Regions from separate parts of the Homo sapiens genome. Here region 1 is linked to region 2. The links are contacts of gene promoters, found by promoter capture Hi-C in blood cells and fetal thymus (Javierre and others, 2016). All regions are on one chromosome and are shown on one strand. Each heading gives the region's core, a stretch centred on a gene start or on the middle of the fragment in contact. The rest is flanking DNA. Distances are from core to core; before and after follow the strand shown.

Evidence for each region. Contacts are between HindIII fragments. The CHiCAGO score rates a contact against its expected background, and 5 or more counts as called.
Region 1: a fragment that was not itself captured here is called in contact with the fragment with the promoter of MAST1 in region 2 in 3 of 17 cell types (erythroblasts, megakaryocytes and monocytes); the score reaches 8.1 in erythroblasts.

What each region holds. Positions count from the first base shown.
Region 1 is chr19:12,685,932-12,690,095 of GRCh38, reverse strand. GNG14 (G protein subunit gamma 14) reads right to left here and starts at 2,098. Exons shown (of 1, transcript NM_001316692.2): 1 at 1,674-2,098. The coding sequence starts at 2,047. The coding sequence ends at 1,724. It overlaps FBXW9 (F-box and WD repeat domain containing 9), which reads left to right. Exons shown (of 10, transcript NM_032301.3): 6 at 1-134; 7 at 222-335; 8 at 466-555; 9 at 659-724; 10 at 806-1,180. The coding sequence ends at 880. The HindIII fragment of the contact is 4,836 bases long and covers 1-4,009 here.
Region 2 is chr19:12,836,818-12,841,345 of GRCh38, reverse strand. MAST1 (microtubule associated serine/threonine kinase 1) reads right to left here and starts at 2,831. Exons shown (of 26, transcript NM_014975.3): 1 at 2,691-2,831; 2 at 812-900; 3 at 280-355. The coding sequence starts at 2,773. RefSeq lists an enhancer at 785-844 and silencers at 2,751-2,800, 2,851-3,030, 3,035-3,218. The HindIII fragment of the contact is 9,607 bases long and covers 1-3,880 here.

The DNA.
Region 1 (4,164 bases), core at 342-2,841, 150 kb after region 2:
TGAAGCACCAGCAACTACACTCCAGACCCGTGCTGACCCTGCTGGCGGATGACCGGCACATCATCTCAGGCAGCGAGGACCACACCCTGGTGGTGGTGGACCGCCGAGCCAACAGCGTCCTGCAGCGTCTGCAGGTGGGCCCTCCCCAGGGGCCTGGAGGGATGGGGACTGTTGCAGGCCCAGCCCGGCCTGAGCTGTCCCGTCCCTTGTCCCTCTCGTAGCTGGACTCCTACCTGCTCTGCATGTCCTACCAGGAACCCCAGCTCTGGGCTGGTGACAACCAGGGCCTGCTGCACGTCTTCGCCAACCGCAACGGCTGCTTCCAGCTTATCCGGGTCTGCTGGAGCTCCTGCCCCTGACTGTCCCTCCCCCCGGGCTTCCTTCCTACCCGAGCCCCTGGTGGTGTGGGGGAGGGCGGGCCTTGGGAGAGCCTCGACTGAGTGTTGCCTGATCCTCCTCCTGCAGTCCTTTGATGTGGGCCACAGCTTTCCCATCACTGGGATCCAGTACTCCGTGGGAGCCTTGTACACCACATCCACTGACAAGACCATCCGGGTGAGGCTCCTGCCCAGCCCCCACCCCAGGACAGTCCCTGCCTCTCCCCTACCTCCATCAGCCAGGGGCACACCTCTTGACCTCGCCCATTGCCCCTCACTAGGTGCACGTGCCCACAGACCCACCAAGGACCATTTGCACCCGAAGGCATGACAATGGGCTCAATAGGGTAAGGTCCTGCCCCATGTGCCCTGCCCAGCTGGCCAGAGCGCCATCGTCCCTGACTCCTCATGTTCCTCCCCCTTCCCAGGTCTGTGCTGAGGGCAACCTGGTGGTGGCCGGCTCTGGAGACCTGTCGCTAGAGGTCTGGAGGCTGCAGGCCTGAGCAGGTGGGCGTGGATGTGGATACTGCCTGCCGGAGGCTGGGCTTCCTCCTCTGTTCTTGGGGGACCATCCCCAATGTTGGTGCTGCCTCCGCCCCGTGGGCCTAGGGCACAAGGAGTCCCAGCCACATTCGGGTGAGCGTCCTGGCCTGGGCCCTATGCCCGGGGGAAGGGTGAAATTGGGGTTCAGGCCCACCCAGGGGGCCGCTTCCCACTCTTGGGCCCTGGTTTTGTTATGATTTGGATGCCCCGCTCTCAGTTGAGAGCGAAGGAGAAATAAACCTGACATGTTGGTGCTTGGGCCTGGAGTGTGAGTGTGGTTTGCCTGCTGGGGTTCTGCCTGTGCCTGCTTGGGGCTGTGGGGCTGCGGGCCTGCATGGGAGTGACTGGGAGAGATAGCAAGTCTGGGCTGGGGGTGCATGTCAGCTGTTGCTGTGCATTTGAAGAGGGAGAGTCCTGAGGATCGTGGGCATCTGTGTCTATGATGTCACGTGTGTGTGTGATGTGTGACGCGTGTGGTGTATAGATTATGACTCAAATCCTGGCCATTTGTCTGCACGGTGGGAAAGGGTACCTGCTCAGGCTATCCCATGGGTGCTGGCGAGGGCAAGAGGGATGGCGTGCTCTCCGTCTGGGGCTCCAGGGTGTGTGTGTGCTGCTGTGGCTGTGACCCCGGGGGCAGGCAGGGAGGGAGGCTGGGCCAGGTACGCACCTGGCCCCTGCAAGCCCAAAGTCCCTCTGGTCTCCCATCTCAGCCCAGCTCAGCCATGCCCTGAGAAGTATTCACTTCATGTTTATTGAGGCCCCCTGGTTTGCCCAGGCCACAGGGTGGCATTGCCCTGGGTTCATAGGATGGCATAGGGCTTCTTCTCCTTGAAGGAGTTGGTGGCGGCCGGGATGCCCACAAGGAAGGGGTCATTCTTGGCCTGCTCCGTGCAGAACTTCAGCAGATCGGCGGCCATCTTTGGACACCTGCAGACCAACTGGTTCAGCCAGACCAGACCCAGGCATGCACCTGTCCCCTGGCCCATGTGTTCCCACCTCTTCCCGCCTCCTGCACTGGCCCCGACCCTCACCTTCACTTGGTCGATGCCTGCCTCCATCTGGAGCTGCTCCACTGCCCAGAGGGCCTGCCCAATGTCACTGTTGATGGCCACCTTGCTGGACATCTGGGTAAAGTGGGCAGGCCGTGGGCAGCAGGCCCAACCTCAGTCCCCTAGGGGGAGCCTAGGGCTGCCCGAGGGTTCCCACACCTCCTTCTATGTTCCTTGGGGGCTGCAGGATGAGGGTGGCTGCTCCTGGACCCATCAGGCCCACACACCTCGGCTAAGGGCTCCGGCCCAAGTCACCTCTGGCTGCCTGGTCCTCTGGTGGCCACCCTGCTGTGGCTCCCTCCCCAACCCAGCCTGTCCTCTTCAACCCCCTTTTCTCCCTCGGCTACCCCTGCAAAGACTTTGAAGCCAGGGCTCTCATGGAGTGAAATGTCACCAGCTGCAGCAGCAGCTGCTGCCTCGGCTGAGGGGGTCCCTGCCCCAGGAGGCCCTGTGGCTCCTCTGGTGTCATGTGTCACCTGGGTCCCTGTGGGCTAGGTGCCTTGGCTGGGGGAGTGAGGAGGCCCTGGCCTCCCCCTGGCCTGCTGGATCTCCTGCTAACTGTTCCCAACACATCTGCTTTGTCAGCCTCTGCCATCTCCAACATGCAGCCTTGCCTCTCCTCCTGTTGTCGCCACTGCTCAGGCTCAAATCTCCAATGCCTTCGTTCTTTTTTTTTTTTTTTTTTTTTTTTTTGAGAGAGAGTCTTGCTCTATCACCCATGTTGGAGTGCAGTGGTGCGATCTCAGCTCACTTTCAACCTCCACCTCCCGGGCTCAAGTGATTCTCCTGCCTCAGCCTCCTGAGTAGCTGGGATTACAGGCGTATGCTACCACACCCGGCTAATTTTTTTTTTTTTTTTTTTTTTGAGATGGTATTTCGCTCTTGTTGCCCAGGCTAGAGTGCAATAGCGTGATTTCGGCTCACTGCAACCTCCGCCTTCTGGGTTCAAGCGATTCTTCTGCCTCAGCCTCTCGAGTAGCTGGGATTACAGGCATGTGCCACCATGCTCGGCTAATTTTTTGTATTTTTAGTAGAGATGAGGTTTCACCATGTTGGTCAGGCTGGTCTTGAACTCCTGATCTCAGGTGATCCACTTGCCTCAGCCTCCCAAAGTGCTGGGATTACAGGCATGAGCCACTGCGCCCGGCCACACCTGGCTAATTTTTGTATTTTTAGTAGAGAAGGGGTTTCACCATGTTGGCCAGGCTGGTCTCGAACTCCTGACCTCAAGTGATCCACCTGCTTCGGCCTCCCAAAGTGCTGGGATTACAGGTGTGAGCCATCGTGCCTGGCCTTCTTTTCTTTTTTTAAGCCCAGGTTCTCGCTCTGTCGTCCAGGCTGGAGTGCAGTGGTACAATCATAGCTCACTGTAACTTCAAACTCCTGGGCTCAAGTGATCCTCTCAACTCAGCCTCCTGATTAGCTAGAATTATAGGCGTGAGCCACCGTGCCCTGCTAATTTATGTTTTTAACTTTTTGTAGAGATGGTTCTTACTATGTTGCCCAGGCTGGTCTTGAACTCCTGGCCTCAAACGATCCTCTTGCCTTGGCCTTCCAAAGGAATTATAGGCATAAGCCACTGAGCCCTGCCCCGAGATTCTAATATGTGCCCAGCACTGTGCAAAAACCCAAATTAGCAATGAAACAAGACAAAACCTTGCCCTCATGGAGCTGCCTTTCTAGTTAGGCAGGGATGGACAACAGAAAATGTACTCAGTGAAAGAGTATACATGTGAAAGGGCATATGAAAGAAGAATAAAATCAAAGTAAAGGGGAGAGGAGTGGTCAGGGCAGGCCTCTCAGAGGAGGTGACATTTGAACTTAGGCCCAAAGGAGGAGAAGGAACTGAGAAATGGGGTGTTCTAGGCAGAAGGAGCGGCAAGTACCTGACTCCTTGGACAAAAAAGAGCTTGGTGGGTTCCAGGAATAGCAAAGAGGTCTGTGTAGCTGGAGAGGAGAGAGGGAGGGAGGGCCAGCATGGTGGGAGATGGCAGCAGGGAGGTTGAGAGGTGCCCTTTAAGGCCACTGTGAAAAGCTTGGATTTTACTCCCAGGGGGAAGCTACCATTAGGAGGTTTTAACAGTGACATGTTTGATTTATGGTTAAAGAGCTGTGGCATGCACCTGTAGTCCCAGCTACTGGGGAGGCTGAAGTGGGAGGATCACTTGAGGCCAGGAGGTCGAAGCTGCAGT
Region 2 (4,528 bases), core at 1,582-4,081:
TCGGAGAGACTAAGACCCCGCGCCCAGGGCGCACGCGCTTTCGACCTGCCGCAAAGGGAGCCCCACCGCCTTCCCCGTTCCAGATCGGCGATTGGACCCCGCCTTCTTATAGGCCCCGCCCCGAAGGCTAGGCGCTCCTTCCCGCTGAGACCTTGGGGCACTCGCTGGTCCCCTCAGGCCCCAGCTCGGGTGCAATTAGGAGGAGAACAGATGGCGGCCCAGACAGTGGTTGGGGAGGGTCTGCCCAGGGTTCTGGGGCCCTGGAGGGGAGGGACTCACCTTCGGGAGGAGGCAAACGAGAAGTGGGCGGGGGTGTTGGGGGAGAAGTTTCGGGGGCTGTCCAGGGGACTGCTGCCTATGAGAGAAAGAGGGGGCAAATCCTGTCAGGTCTCTCGTTCCCTAAAGCGGCGTGCAAACAGCAGCATGTCCTGTCTTTAGTCTAGTCCCGCCTATTATGGGGAGACCACGCCCCTTCGCCTGTGGCCCCGCCTCTCTAAATTTTTTCGTTGCCGAGTCAGCCTGGCCCCTTCCAAGACGATTCTGGCTTCATCTGGGATGGCCCCGCCCCTCAGGTACGACTCCTCCTTTCTGTCCGTCCCACCTGAGTCTCCGCCCACCTGAGTCTCCGCCCCCCAATGACCGTCCCTCTGCGACTGACCACACCCACACAAGCATGGCCCCGCCCCTTATCCAAACTGGTTCGCCTCCATTCAAACTGCGCCCCTTCTGTAGCATGACCACGCTTCCTCGCCTGAGGCCCCGCCTACTGTAGGCCAGTCTGCACCCACCAAGTCTCTACCACTGGCCTCACCTAGGTGACCTGGCAGCGGGGAGTGGGGTCTCGGTAGCGTGGGTGAAGTGCTGGTCAGGATGAGGCTTTTCCGATTACTGGTGCGGCAGCTGCGGGGAAGGTAAGGCAGGGGGGCCGGGCCGGGCCGCAGCCCAGTGAGTTCTTGAGCCCCACCAGCTGACCTCCTGTCTCAGATCCCCGCCTATCTCCCATCCATGTGTGTTTGGAGGCTCCCTGGGAGGGTTTCTCGAAGAAAGGTGGTGCAGGCCTCGGCAGGACTGTGTACGGCAGGGGATGTGCATATGACATGTGTGTGAGAAACTCTCAGTATGGATTATGTGTAGGGCAGTGTCTGTCATGGTGTGATAGTCACTGTGTCTAGGTGACACCATTGGTGATACTGAGCGTGTCTCAGTCTATGCGTGACATTCACTGTAGGTATCCACGTGTGGTATCCACTGTATGAATTCAACAATGTGTGACGCTGAATGCATTCTAGTGTGATACGTGTGACACAACGTGGGTTTATCTTGTGTGATACAATTTGAGCATTTGTGTGTCTATGTGACACAGTGTGAAATGCCACTTGTCCATAACAATGTGTGCTGTAACACAGGCAGGTTGTATTATTATTATTTTTTTTCTTTTAAATCAATGTCTCGCTCTGTCGCCCGGCTGGAGTGCAGTGTGCAGTGGCTCACTGCAGCCTCAAACTCCTGGGCTCAAGCAATCCTCCCGCCTCACCTCACCCTCCTGAGTAGCTGGGACTACAGGTGCCTGCCACCATGCCTGGCCAGGATGCATGATCCCCCCTACATGTATCTATGTCTTTGTGTGGCATTCTGAGTCTGTGTCCGATACTGTCCTTCCGTCTGGGTGTGACATTCACCATGCTTGTCCATGTGTATGTAGCATCTATTGTGTGAATTTAACATCTTGTGACACTGTGTCCAAACATGTCACCACATTTGACATTCTCTAGGTGAGTCTTGCAATGTGATAACATGTGATTTTGCGTGGTTCTGTCTCTGCAAGATCCCTACATCTGTTTATCCTGATGTCAGTGTGACATAGTATGTGAGATACCTAGATATGACATCGTGTGTTGTGACATTCTTGGATGCATGGATGGGATATTGAAACACATGTTTGCATCTTGGATGACATAACTGTGTGTGTGTGGATCGCCATGTAAGTGACATCTTACTAGGTGTACACGACGTGGTGCCCCTGTGTGTCTGTGCATGGTTCTGACCTGTGGCAGCTGCAAGGCTAGGTATGTGTGGCACCTCCCAGTGTATCTGGGCCACTAGGGCTGTTGTGTGTATGTGTGTGACATCATGTCCTGTGTGACGCTGTGTGTCACTATTTTCAGTGTAAGGCTGTGTTCGGGGGGGGGGGTTGTGTTATGATAAACCCCCCCTTTTTTCTACCCCTCAGCATCCAGCTCCCGAAGAGGGAGCCCCAAGCCCCTCCGTCCGTCCCCTCACCCACAGCCGCAGTGACTGAGCATATTAGCGCGTCCAGGAGCACGCGGCATGGGGGTGGGGGGAGGCCAGGCTGCGGCTATTGTTCTGAGGGTGCCAAGCCCCCCAGCCTCCCCTTCTTCCTCTACCCCCACCAGGCTGTTGGAGCCCGCAGCGCCAGCAGACAAAGGCGCCACAAACCCCCAGTGGCGCAGCCCCCTCCCCCCGCGGCCGTCCTCTCCAGCGTGCAAGCCCCCCAGACTCGGCCCACACCACCCCCCATTCAACCCCAACCCCGGCGGGAAGGCGCAGCTGGGGCACCTCTGGCGCAGCTGGACCGGGCGCAGCATCCCGGGCCCCGCCCTGCAGCAGTACCCGGAGCGGCGGCTTTTGCGGGGAGGGCCGGGACAATGTCTAGGGGATCGGGGGTCTACCTCTTGGTGCGGCGGAACATACTGCCGCCGGGGAAGGAGGGCATCGAGAAATTAGAAAGCGCGGTCCAGAGAGAGTCAGACATGACCCGGCGGCGGCGACATGGTGGCAGGTGCGGCAGCAGCGGCGGAGGCGGCGGCGGCGGCGGCGCGGGGAGCAAGCGCGCGGGGCGGAGGCTGCAGCCGCCGCAGCGGGCAGGGGAGGGCAGGGAAGGGGAGGGCCCTGCGGCTGCAGCCGGCCGGGAGGGGGCGCTGCTGCGTGCCGGCGAGCCAGGCCCCGCCCGCGCACTCGCCTGGCGCCCCCACCCCGGCGGGAGAAGGGGCGGCCAGCCCCCGCCACGTCTCTCCCCAGGCTCACCTGCTGCTTTTCCGGGGCAGGGGCAAATCCTTCTGGAAGGCAAAGGGGCAAAACGATGAAGGTCAGCGTGGACCTGCCGTTGCTGCCCACAAGCATTATCAACTCCCTGGAGGAGCAGAAGCAGGGTAAGACAGGCCCCTCTTCAGCACTGTCACTTTCACCCTTGGCCATGCACTGCGGGCCAAGTTTCTTGGGGGAGAGGATCCCTGGGTGATTCCTCTCCTGACCCTCAGAGACCAACAGAGGCCCACGTACACAGGCGGGGCGCCATATAAAGGCAAGTGAGTTGGCATATCAGCGTGTGTTTGTGCAAATGAAATAGGAATCATTATTTGAAAAATATGTCTTGAGCACCTACTGTATGCTGACCCAATCCTAGGCACTAGGGACACAGTAGTGAATAAATTACAAGTCCGGTGTGGTGGTGTGCACCTCTAGTCCCAGCTACTTGGGAGGTTGAGGCAGGAGAATCGCTTGAGTCCAAGGAAACACCAGCGTGGGCAACACAGCAAGACTCTCTGTCTCAAGGAGAAAAAAAAAAAAGTTTCTGGCCTTTTGGGACTAGTATTTATAGGGTAAAGGGGACATTAAACAAGATTAGTGTAGAAGTGAACGAAATCATTTTAGACAATAATTAGTCTTATGAATAAATTAAACAGGGTGATGTGATGGACAATGGCTAGGATGGAGACACATTGTCAGACAGGGCTGCTCTGTGGAGGTGACTTTTAAGCTGGTTGCTGAAAGATAAGAGCCAGCCATGGGAGGATCTGTGGAGAGAGCATTCCAGGTGGAGGGAACTGCAAGGGCAAAGGCCTGGAGGCGGGAATAAGCTTAGCGTACTCAATGAATGAATGAAAGGTTGAATGAATGAAAGGTTGAAAGAATGAATGACTCATCTACACCTCAGCAGATCTATCTGACTCCCAGCTAGAGTCATAGAGTTGGGGTAGGGGGTGGGGGGTAGGTAAGTAGAGTGACTCACAACTGAGATTTAAAATGGGAACCACGGAGGCTGAGGTGGGAGAATCTCTTGAGCTCAGGAGGTCGAGGTTATAGTGAACTATGATTGCACCACTGCTGGAGTAAGACACCCTCTCAATTAACAATAAATAAATAAATAATAAAAAGTTTAAAAAATAAAAAAATAAAAATGGAAATTCAGGTGATGGCCGCATAGTCATTTTTTATAATGACAATAATAATAATTAGTGAGTATTAACTTTATGTGTCTGCATTTGAAGAAGGTCACCTTCCATTTGTCAAGCTCTTAGGAAGTCACTGTAGGGATCAGGAGATATGGGGTCTTGGCTTTTTTCTGAGGAAAGGAATGGGGTACAAGGGGCAACACCTGCCAGCCAGTTTTCTATCCACAGGGTGAGGTGGAAGGAAGGAAACTGAGTGGGGCTGCAGGTGGAAAGATTTGGGGGAGAGTTTCAAAAGGCCTTTGGAGGGGACTCCAACAAAAGGAAAATGAGGGATG